3 separate regions of the Homo sapiens genome follow, and regions 1 and 2 are each linked to region 3. Evidence: promoter capture Hi-C in 16 types of primary human blood cells and fetal thymus (Javierre and others, 2016). All regions are on one chromosome and are shown on one strand. The core of a region is centred on a gene start or on the middle of the fragment in contact, and the rest is flanking DNA. Distances in the headings are between cores, read along the strand shown. Region 1 overlaps MTOR (mechanistic target of rapamycin kinase). Region 2 overlaps UBIAD1 (UbiA prenyltransferase domain containing 1). Region 3 holds the start of MFN2 (mitofusin 2).

Region 1 (3,459 bases), core at 540-3,039, 760 kb after region 3:
TCTCTTTTTTATATTGATTTCTAACTTAATTGCATTGTGTTTATGATTCTTTCATGCTTGCTGGAACTGCTTTAATGGTCTAGTGGTTGATTGATTTTCATAAATATTTCCTATATCCTTGGGAATACTTGTGTATTTGCTAACGTTATGGACAGGGTTTTACATAAGTCATTAGATTGAATTTATTACTTATTGTGTTCAAATCTTTTGTGTCCTTCTAATTTTTGTTTGTTTGATCTATCAATACTGAGAGAAGTGAGACAAAAATCTCCCTTTACATTGGTGGGCTTTTTTCTGATAGTTTAGTCAATCTTGTTTTATGTATCTTTGAGATTATATTACTAGATGCATGCAAATTTTAAATCCTGATATCTTCCTGGTAAGTTGACTCTTTTATCATTATGCAATAATCCTTCTTATCTTTAATAATACCTTAAAACGTATTTTACGTAACATTAATATAGCTGTACCAGCTTTTTTTTGGAGGTATATGTCTTTTCCAATTCTTTTACTTTTAACTGTCTTGTGACTTTTTGTTTTGGATGCTGTCTTGTAAATATAGCTAGATTATCTTTTTAATCCAATTTAAAAATGTTTGTCTTTTAACCAGTGCATTCTAGGCCAATTGCATTTATTGTGATTGCTGTTATATTTGGCCTATTTATTTTATTTTATTTTATTTTATTTTATTTTATTTTATTTTATTTTGAGACGGAGTATCGCTCTTGTTGCCAGGGTGGAGTGCAATGGTGTGATCTCGGCTCACTGCAACCTCTGCCTCTTGGGTTCAAGTGATTCTCCTGCCTCACCCTCCCAGGTAGCTGGGATTATAGGTGCATGCTACCATGCCCAGCTAATTTTGTATTTTTAGTAGAGATAGGATTTCACCATATTGGCCAGGCTGGTCTCAAACTCCTGACCACAAGTGATCCACCCGTCTCGGCCTCCCAAAGTGCTGGGATTACAGGTGTGAACCACTGCACCTGGCCATGTTTGCGTTTATTTCCACCATCTTACTTAGTGCATTCTTTTTGTCCTGCTTTGTCTGTTTATCTTTCTTTTTTGTCTTTTTCTGGATTTGTTTGAGCCTTTATTTTTTATTTCATCTTTTGCCTTCACTCATTGGCCACCTTTAATTTTTCTTAACATTTTGTAATAGACTATTTCAATCATGAATATAGTAGACAACCTATTATATTAGATTCTCACATACCCATCAGTAATTACTAGCATTTTGTCAATTTGGTTTTATCTCTTACCTCCATCGCCTTTCCCCCCGACACATGTACATACATTTCTGCAGTATTTTAAAGCAAATTACAGGTATCATATTATTTCACCAATACATACTTTTTCCCATGTAACCACAAATATGACACCTACAAAGCTAACAATCATTTCTTAGTATTATTTAATACCAACCCTTCTTCAGATGTCCCTGATTGTCTTAAAAATTCATTGTAATTTGGTTTATTCAAATAAAAATCTATATAAGGTCTACATCTGGCATTTGGTTGATGTATATAATTCTTTCACTACTTATTTACCTTTTCCCTCTACTTAAAAAAAAAAAAAAAGTCATGTATTTGTAGAAGAAACCAGGTCATTTGTCCTGTTTCTCATACTGGATTTGGCTGATTGTATCTTCGAAGTGTCTTAATTTCCTATAAACTAGTTAGATTTAGAGGCTTGATTAGATTCAGGTTCTGTTCTTTTGACAAGAGATACTTCATAGATTACAGTACTGTATACCTCCTATTTCAACATTTAGTAAACAGATATTTTCCATATGACCCACTGCTAGTGATGTAAAGGCTGATCAGTGGGTTCGGATATTGTCATCTGATCCATCTGTTATAAAGTTCCCTATCAGCCTTTTTCCCAGTCATTTTAGCATTCATTGGTAGTTATTTCCTAGAGCTGTTATTTGATTAGGGACTGCAAAATGGTGATTTTCTTACTTATATATATATTTTTTTTATTAAAAAAAATGTTTTTTTCCATGACATATCTCTCAGGAGCTCCTGAGAACATGTGCCCCAAAATGGTGATTTTCTAATTTGATTATTCCTTCTGGATTTATTAGCTAGAAAGTTCTTTAGAAATAAAGAACTTGGCTGGGCATGGTGGCTGTAATATCAGCACTTTGGGAGGCTGAGTTGAGAGGATTGCTTGAGCCCAGGAGGAGTGTAAGACCAACCTGGGCAGCATAGCAAAACCCCATCTCATTTTATTTAAAACATTTTTTTAGGCTGGGCGCAGTGGCCCACGCCTGTAATCCCAGCACTTTGGGAGGCCGAGGCGGGTGGATCACAAGGTCAGGAGATCAAGACCATCCTGGCTAACACGATGAAACCCTGTCTCTACTAAAAATACAAAAAAATTAGCCAGGCATGGTGGCAGGCACCTGTAGTCCCAGCTACGTGGGAGGCTGAGACAGGAGAATGGCATGAACCCGGGAGGTAGAGCTTGCAGTGAGCCGAGATTGGGCCACTGCACTCCAGCCTGGGTGACAGAGCGAGACTCCGTCTCAAAAAAAAAAAAAATTTTTTTTAAATAAATTTTAAAAAAGAACTTTATATAATCAACTACTGAGGTAATTTGAAGTGTAGATCATGTAGGAAAAGCAGAATACATGCATGAATCTTTCCCTTTATTTATCAATTTATCAATTTTTTAGTATAATGAGTCAAGCCTCTAACAGCTTTTCAGAGGTGAGCCAGGCACCTTCCCACCTCCCAATCCTACCCTCATTCTTTGGAGTATCAGTATGAACTCATGAAGATACATATATATATATAATTTATCTTTATTTATACTGTAAACCAAGTTGGTTGCACAGTCACTCAAAGAAGACTGTCAAGTGAAAGTCATTTAGTCATCTTATTGTTAATACTAATATTGGTCATTTACTTTACTACTTGTGTGTTTAAGAAAGATACATATATATATGTAATCTCACTAAAAGAAACAGAGCTCTCTATATAGAGTATTTCTATATATATAGAATATATATATGTATATATACACTATATATATATGTATATATAATATTTCTGTTCATTGCAGGCACCAATCTTTTTCACAATCAGATTGTCCTGATCACCCTGGCTGTTGTGTCCTTTTTACATGGCCCGGTAGACTTTCTTGCTTTCTGGCGGAAAAAAATTACTCCAAGCGTATCAAGTATATTTCACTCAAACCTGGGCATAGCCATTTCCAAGGAGCTCTGATTTCTTTTAGTGAGATTACATACATATATATATATTTTATAGATGTAAATAGAAAATGACCAATGTTAGTATTAACAATAAGATGACTAAATGTAGTTTAAGACTTTCAGTTGATATTCTTCTTGAGTGATTGTGCAGCCAACTTGGCTTATAGTTATACTCATTTGTTTCTGTTTATTTTCAATTTTTAGAAATTTCCTTGAGTTTACAAAAAATTTAGGCTGAG
Region 2 (3,718 bases), core at 105-2,604, 700 kb after region 3:
GAAAACAGTAGAGCCCTTGGGGAGAAAGCTGTTTCCTAGCATTTGATACATGGCCCAAGGCTTCATGTGCTCTACCTGATTCAGAGACGTGGCCCATCTGGGAATTTCCTTTTAGGCATTCCTCCTCTCCCAACCCCATTTTCTGAATGAGCTTACACAGTGAAATACTGGGCCGGTTCTCCACACGGCAGCCAGAATGAATCTGTTAAGACTTAAGTCAAAAAGTTGGCAAGACGCAGAGCAACTGGAACACTTGCTGGGGGGAGTGTAAAGAAGTACAACCACTTCAGAAAACAGTTTGGCAGTTTCTCATAAAATTAAACATCATCTGCCCTGTGACCCAGCAATTCTACTCCTGGGCATTTACCCAAGAAAAATGAAAACAAATATCCACAAAAAGACTTGAACATGAATGTTCAGACGTAATAGCCAAAATATGGAAGCAATCCAAATGTCCCTGAAAAGGAGAATGGATAAAAAGAAGTTGTGGTATGTTACAATGGAATGCTAGTCAGCAAAAAAAGGAACTACTGATACACGCAATAAAACAATGAATCTCAAAAACATCACGCTGAGCAAAAGAAGCCAGACGAGAGCTCAGACTGAAATAAATACACATACATACATACATACATAGTTCATAGTGAAAGGTTCCATTTATATGACAGGCAAAACTAATCTCTGTGAGAGGAATCAGAACAGTGGTTCTTTTCCTGTCTCTGGATGGGGGCAGGGAGTGTGGGATTGACAGGCAAGAAGCACTGGGAAGCTTTTGGGGGTGATGGAAGTGTTCTGGATGATGACGGGGTGTGGGTTATGCAACTGTATACATTTATCAAAATTCATCAAGCTGCAACACTAAAAACCTGTGCATTTCACTGTGTGTCAATTATATGTCAATAAAAGACAATGTTTAAAAAATCTTAAACCAGATTATGTCACTACTCTGCTCAGTATATTTCAATGCCTTCCCATTTGTTCACTGGATATTTACTAAGTAATATTACATGCCAGGCAGTGCTCTGGGTGCTAGGGGTTCAGCTAATACCAGAGACAGAAATCCCTGACTGCAGGGAGGGAGCTCGCAGTCGAAGGGGGAAGATAATTAACCAATTAAGTACTTTATATGGCACATTAGAAGGTAACATGTGCTATGAGGAAAACTAATGCAGAGAAGAGCAGCAGGGGAAGTATCAGGTGGGGGCACGGAGTGGGTGTGTAATTTTAAGCAAGGTAGAAAGCAAGGCCTCACTGAGCAGCTGACATTTGGGCAAATAGGTGAAGGAAGTGAGAAAGTGAACCACATGGTTAGAAGCAGGAAAAGCATTTCAAACAGAGGAAGCTGCATCTACAAAGGACCTGAGGGAGGGGCAGGAGGGGTTGTGCATGCTCCTGGACTAGAAAGGGCAGTGTGGCTGGCCCAGGATGAGCAGGAAGAAAGGAGGAGGGTGGGTCAGAGAACTGGGGGGAGGGCAAAAGGTGGGCAAAGAATGTAGGGCCCTAGGGAGTCACTGTAAAGACCCTGGCCTTTACTCTGAGCAAGATGGGAGCCACTGAAGAGTTCTAAGCAGGACTGACAGGGCTGCCCTATATTTTAACAGAATTACTCTGGTGGCTGAGTGGGAACAGCCTGAATGGGACCAGAACAGAGGTAAAGAGACCAGTTGGGAGCCTGCCGCAAAAATCCAGGGACAGATGATCACAGTGGTGGCTGGACACGGTAAGAAGTGGTCAGATCCTACATGCATTTTGAAAGGAGAGTCAACAGAATTTGCTGATGAACTGGATGTGAGACGTGGGAGTCAAGGACGATGCCCACAGCTTTTGGCCTGAAGAACTAGGATGAAGCTGCCATTGAGCAAAATGGGGAAAAAGCTGTGGGCGAAGCAGGTTTCCTTGGGGAGAAGATCAGAATTTGGTCTCAGACATGTTAAGCTTGAGATGTTTATGAGACAGTTCTAGGAGAAGTTGCTGAGCAAGAAGTTGGATATGAGTCTGGAGTTTAAGAGTCACTAGCTTAACAGATGGCATCTGAAGCCATGAGCTACATCACCAAGGGAGTACATGGAGATAGAGAAAAGAGGCCCAAGGACTGAGCCCTGGAGGTTGGGGAGTAGGACTGGTTAAGATCGCCATGACAGAGACCCTGCCTAACTCACCAACTGTGTCTCATGCCCCCTCTGGCTCACACAGACCTTTCAGTAGATCCTAGCCAATGTCACACTCTCTCTCACCCACCACATTTGCACTTAGTGGTCCTTCAGCCCTGGAGGACTCAGCATCACAATCAGACTCCAATTCCACCCCGTGGCCAGCTCCTTATCCTTCCGTCTTCAAGTCCTAGTTTGAACGTCACTTTCACAAAGACAGCCTCTTCCCTTCACCACCACCTTGTACTTTCTATTACACCACCTCATTGATTTCCTTCACTGAACTTTTTATAATTAGCTGCCAGGCCACCACAGCCTTTTGATTTTCCTCTTACTCCTCTGGATGCTTGCTCACATCCCCTTTACCTGTGCCTTTTCTTCCCCCACCTCTAATGTGGGAGTGTCCCAGGGCTCAGACCAGGACTGACTTTTCTACCAACACTCCCTCCCCCTTGATGACCTCACCCAGTCCTACAACTTTATCTATAGACCAATGACTCCCAGATATGTAATCTCTAGCCCAGGCTTCTCTGAACTTGAACTACCCATTTGACATCTTTGTTAGGAGATTTAATAGACATTAAGATGTCCAAAGTTGGCCAGGCGCAGTGGCTCATGCCTGTAATCCCAGCACTTTGGTAGGCCAAGGTGGGTGGATCACCTGAGGTCAGGAGTTTGAGACCAGTCTGGACAACATGGTGAAACACCGTCTCTGCTAAAAATACAAAATTAGCCAGGCATGGTGGCAGACGCCTGTAATCCCAGCTACTTGGGAGGCTGAGAATCACTTGAACCCGGGAGGCAGAGGCTGCAGTGAGCCGAGATCATGCCACTGCACTCCAGCCTGGGAGACGGAGTGAGACTCTGTCTCAAAACAAACAAAAAACAAAACAAAAAACCACGAAGTCAATTGCTTGCTTTTCCCCCAAAACTTGTTCTATCCCCAGCCTTGCCCTTCTCACATGATGACATCACTCCAGATGGTATCTTCCAGTTCTCAGGTCAAAACCTTTGAGTTATGCTTATGCAGCTATTGATAGGCAATGGTATGATTAACTGGGGCCTTAAAGATGATGAAGATATGACATTTACAAGGTGGACAGGCATGATTATTGGGCCACCAAGGACAAATTATGAAAAGAGAATATAGGCCGGGCATGGCAGTTCACACCTATAATCCCAGAACTTTGGGAGGCCAAGGAGGGCAGATCACGAGGTCAGGAGTTTGAGACTAGTCTGCCCAACATAGTGAAACCTCATCTCTACTAAAAATACAAAAAATTAGCTGGGTGTGGTGGTGTGCACCTGTAATCCCAGCTACTCGGGAAGCTGAGGCAGGAGAATCACATGAACCTAGGAAGCAGAGGTTGCAGTGAGCCGAGATCACGCCACTGCGCTCCCGTGTGGGCCACAGCGCGAGCCTCTGTCTCAAAAATAAAAAAAAAGAATATATAGCCTGAAAATAGAAAGTGGACCCAAATACCCAGAAGCTCCCCCATCAGTTAGATTTGTAACAAGAATTAATATGAATGGAATAAATAACTCCAGTGGGATGGTGGATGACCGCA
Region 3 (3,356 bases), core at 722-3,221:
CGAGATGGGGAAGAGCCAGCACAGCAGAGACCAAATGAGGGAGACAGAGACTAACTCTTCAGGGAGCCCAAGAGATCCCAGCCACTTCTGAACTGTCAACTTTTAAACAGGCTCTCTAAGCAACCAGCGAAATCCTTCACGGAAGTAAAAGATACGGTAGTTTTTCAACACAAGTTAGAAAGCTGTGGCTCTATACAAAGAGGATGCCATTCAAGAGACTTGCCACCAGAGGTCCAGGAGAGCACACCCCTGTCCACTCAGCTCAAATCCAGGGTGCCAGAAGTCACAGCTACTACTTACTTTTTTGGATGGTGAGAGATCTTCACAGGGTAGGCATCATGGACATGGCTGAAGTCCAAAAGACAAAAAGATTCTGAGTTCTCTTCTGTCCTGTCTCAGGTTGAGGTTGGCTATTGATTGACTGTGTTGACTCCACCAGTCCTGACTTATTAGAAAAGAAAAGGGAGATGGATCCGGTGTCCAAAAAAAAAAAACACTGGTGTACAAAACATGTCTAATCAGGTTTCAAGCCAAACAAACTCATCCCTGAGGGAAGCTTACTCATTGAGGTATTGGGGAGTTGCGCTGGCATGTGAGGAAGTGCCCTGGGGAAAAAAACGCAGAGGTGTGGGACCAATCCTGACTGTGCACACGTATTCCGCCATGTGCGGGTTTGAGGCACCACGGAGGTCCCTGCAGGAGCCCTGGGAAAGGTACATCCAGAGAGGGGAGAAGAGGACAGAGCAAAACTAGGAACAAAACTGGGCTTGAGGACTGTGGAACAGCTGACTATTGAGGAACAGAAGAACTGACTGAAAGCCAATGTGTTCAGCTACTGTAAAGTATCTCACTTAATTCTCTATTCTGTGGGACAGAGGGCTGGAATACTTGAAGATTTGTCTAAGCTGGGATCTGAAATATTAGCTCCCTTTGACTCCAAAGCTCCTGGAGTGCAGCAGCGCGATCTCGGCTCAACCTCCGCCTCCCGGGTTCAAGCGATTCTCCTGCCTCAGCCTCCTGAGTAGATGGGATTACAGGCGTGTGCCAGCAAGCCCGGCTAGTTTTTGGTTTTAGCACAGACGGGGTTTCACCATGTTGGCCAGGCTGGTCTCCAACTCCTGACCTCAGGTGATCCGCCCGCCTCAGCCTCCCAAAGTGCTGGGATTACAGGTGTGATCCACTGCGACCGGCCTCCTTCCTTTTTTAACTACATTGAGCTGCCTTCCTCCCCCAAGCCCCAAACCTTGGGACACCAGAGGCGGATAACCAGAGCCCTTTTCTGGGTAGAAAAGAGATAACCAGAGCCCTTTTCTGGGTAGAAGAGAGAGAGATGATTGAGAATTTAAAGAGGGCAATGAAGGATTACGAGAGGGGGTAACGGGCAGTTCTGCCTTCGTGCGTCTTAACAGCTATTTATTCAACATTTTCTGTGTGCCTTCTCTGTGTGTGTCAGGCGCCACGTTAGAAATGGATAAGAAACAGTCCTGCCCTCCAGGGCCTTACAGTCCGGTGAGAAGTCATATAAGTAAACAGGGCTGAACGAGAAGGCAGTAACTGCCCAAAGTGGGGATGGCAGGGCGCTCCCGCGGTGAACGTGGACACCTATCAGGTGCTGAGTAAATGCTGGCAAAATGAAGACAGGATGAAAAATAGAGAAGGGGCAGGGGTAGAACATGGCCGTGAAGGGTGGAAAGGCGGGGGCGATGAGAAGCTACAGGGGACCCCACCGACCAGTCCCAGGTCCCGTGGCCCGCCCCCTCCTCTCAGGGCCGGGGAGGGCCCGGCGGCGAGGCCGGAGAGTGGGGACCCCGCTTGACTGCATCCCAGACCCCCGTGGCCCCAGAATCCCGTCGGCCCACGCCGAGCTGCTCAGGACTCGCCGGGCCGGGCCGGGCCAGTCCCCGCCACCCCGGCTTGCTCGCCCTCTCACCTTCACCTTCCCGGCCTCGCGGCGGCCATCACACTCACTACGTCACCAGCGAGCGCCACCCCAGGGGGAGGCGGGAGGAGGGAAGTGGATAAGCGCGTCACCAGTCGCCTCAGATTGCCCCTCGACCCGGGTGAGCTGGTGGACCCTGAGCCCAGCCGGCTCGCCCCGCCTACTCCTTACGCCTCTGCTGCCCCGCGACTCGGCGCTTCGAGCGGCGTCTCAGCGCGCCACTCCTCCGCGCGCCACTCCTCCGCCGGCGCGTCCCAAGCGGACGACGCAGAGGCTCGGACTCCCACTGCATCATGGGGGCTGTAGTTCCGGTGGGCGTCGGCCGGAGCTGGGGGGGCGGGGCAAAGCGGGGCGGAGCCTCAAGCTGTCAAGGGGCGAAAAACCAAGGGCGTGGAGTAGAGGTTCCCGCTTTTTCGCCGGTTGTCCTAGAGCCTGACCCTGGGGCCTCTGCCAGCTCTGGAATCCAGATTTGCATTCTGTAATCTTAGAGGAGTGTTCTCTAGAGGGCCAGGCCTAGGGTGAAGTGACTCATCGGGCAGACAGAAGCGAGCATGGGCCTGCTGCCCTTCAGTCGCCTTTGAGGAAAGAAGAGCAGCAACAACGGCGAATCAATGCCAGTGACTGAACTGCGTCTCTAACATCCACCGCTGTATTTAACGTCCACAGCAGTCCCAGGAGAGGGAGAGGAGAGGTTACCCAAGCTCACATGGTTACCCAGATCACCGGGCCCCAGTGATGCGGCAGACACTACTAGGAAACCGCAGCAAACAGATCCCTTGCAGGACTTGGCCTCCGCAGAGAAGGCTCCAAGCCTGAGCGCGCCAGAACAGTAGGCACTAGCCACGTGTGGCTCTCGAGTCCTGAGCCAGTGCAAACGGAGATGCGCTATAAGACTTAGGACAAAAAAGGCTGTTAAACTATCTCAATTTTTAGGAAAAAAAAATATCGACCGGGCGCGGTGGCTCAAGCCTGTAATTCCAGCATTTTAGGAGGGCGAGGCGGGTGCATCGGGAGTTCAAGACCAGCCTGGCCAACATGGTGAAACCCCGTCTGTACTAAAAATACAAAAATTAGCCAGGCATGATAGTGCACTCGGGAGGAAGAGGCAGGAGAATCGCTTGAACACGGGCGGTGGAGGTTGCAGTGAGCCGAGATCATGCCACTGCACTCCAGCCTGGGCAACAGAGACTCCGTCTCAAAAAAGAAAAAAAAAATCTATCTTTGAGCCAGAGTCTCACTCTCACTCAAGCTGGAGTGCAGTGGTGCAATCACGGCTCACTGCAGCCTCGAACTCCTGGGCTCAAGTAATCCTCCCACCTCACTCAGCCTCCCAAGTAGCTGACCACAGATGCTGCAGCCATGCCTAGTATTTATCTTTTGTAGACATGGGGAAGCATTTCACTTTGTTACCCAGGCT

The links. Contacts are between HindIII fragments. The CHiCAGO score rates a contact against its expected background, and 5 or more counts as called.
Region 1: a fragment that was not itself captured here is called in contact with the fragment with the promoter of MFN2 in region 3 in 1 of 17 cell types (total B cells); the score reaches 5.4 in total B cells.
Region 2: a contact is called between a fragment that was not itself captured here and the fragment with the promoter of MFN2 in region 3, in 2 of 17 cell types (naive B cells and monocytes). The highest score is 5.5, in naive B cells.

Annotation. Positions count from the first base shown.
Region 1 is chr1:11,221,288-11,224,746 of GRCh38, reverse strand. All of the region lies in intron 19 of MTOR (mechanistic target of rapamycin kinase), which reads left to right. Among named protein-coding and RNA genes, the nearest start is that of ANGPTL7, 34 kb to the right of the region's middle. The HindIII fragment of the contact is 4,597 bases long and covers 1-3,459 here.
Region 2 is chr1:11,278,745-11,282,462 of GRCh38, reverse strand. All of the region lies in intron 1 of UBIAD1 (UbiA prenyltransferase domain containing 1), which reads right to left. It also overlaps the pseudogene UBE2V2P3. Among named protein-coding and RNA genes, the nearest start is that of UBIAD1, 7.4 kb to the right of the region's middle. The HindIII fragment of the contact is 1,166 bases long and covers 772-1,937 here.
Region 3 is chr1:11,979,059-11,982,414 of GRCh38, reverse strand. It overlaps MFN2 (mitofusin 2), which reads right to left and starts at 1,971. Exons shown (of 19, transcript NM_014874.4): 1 at 1,931-1,971; 2 at 301-445. RefSeq lists an enhancer at 130-229 and silencers at 1,686-1,925, 2,096-2,355. The HindIII fragment of the contact is 7,841 bases long and covers 559-3,356 here.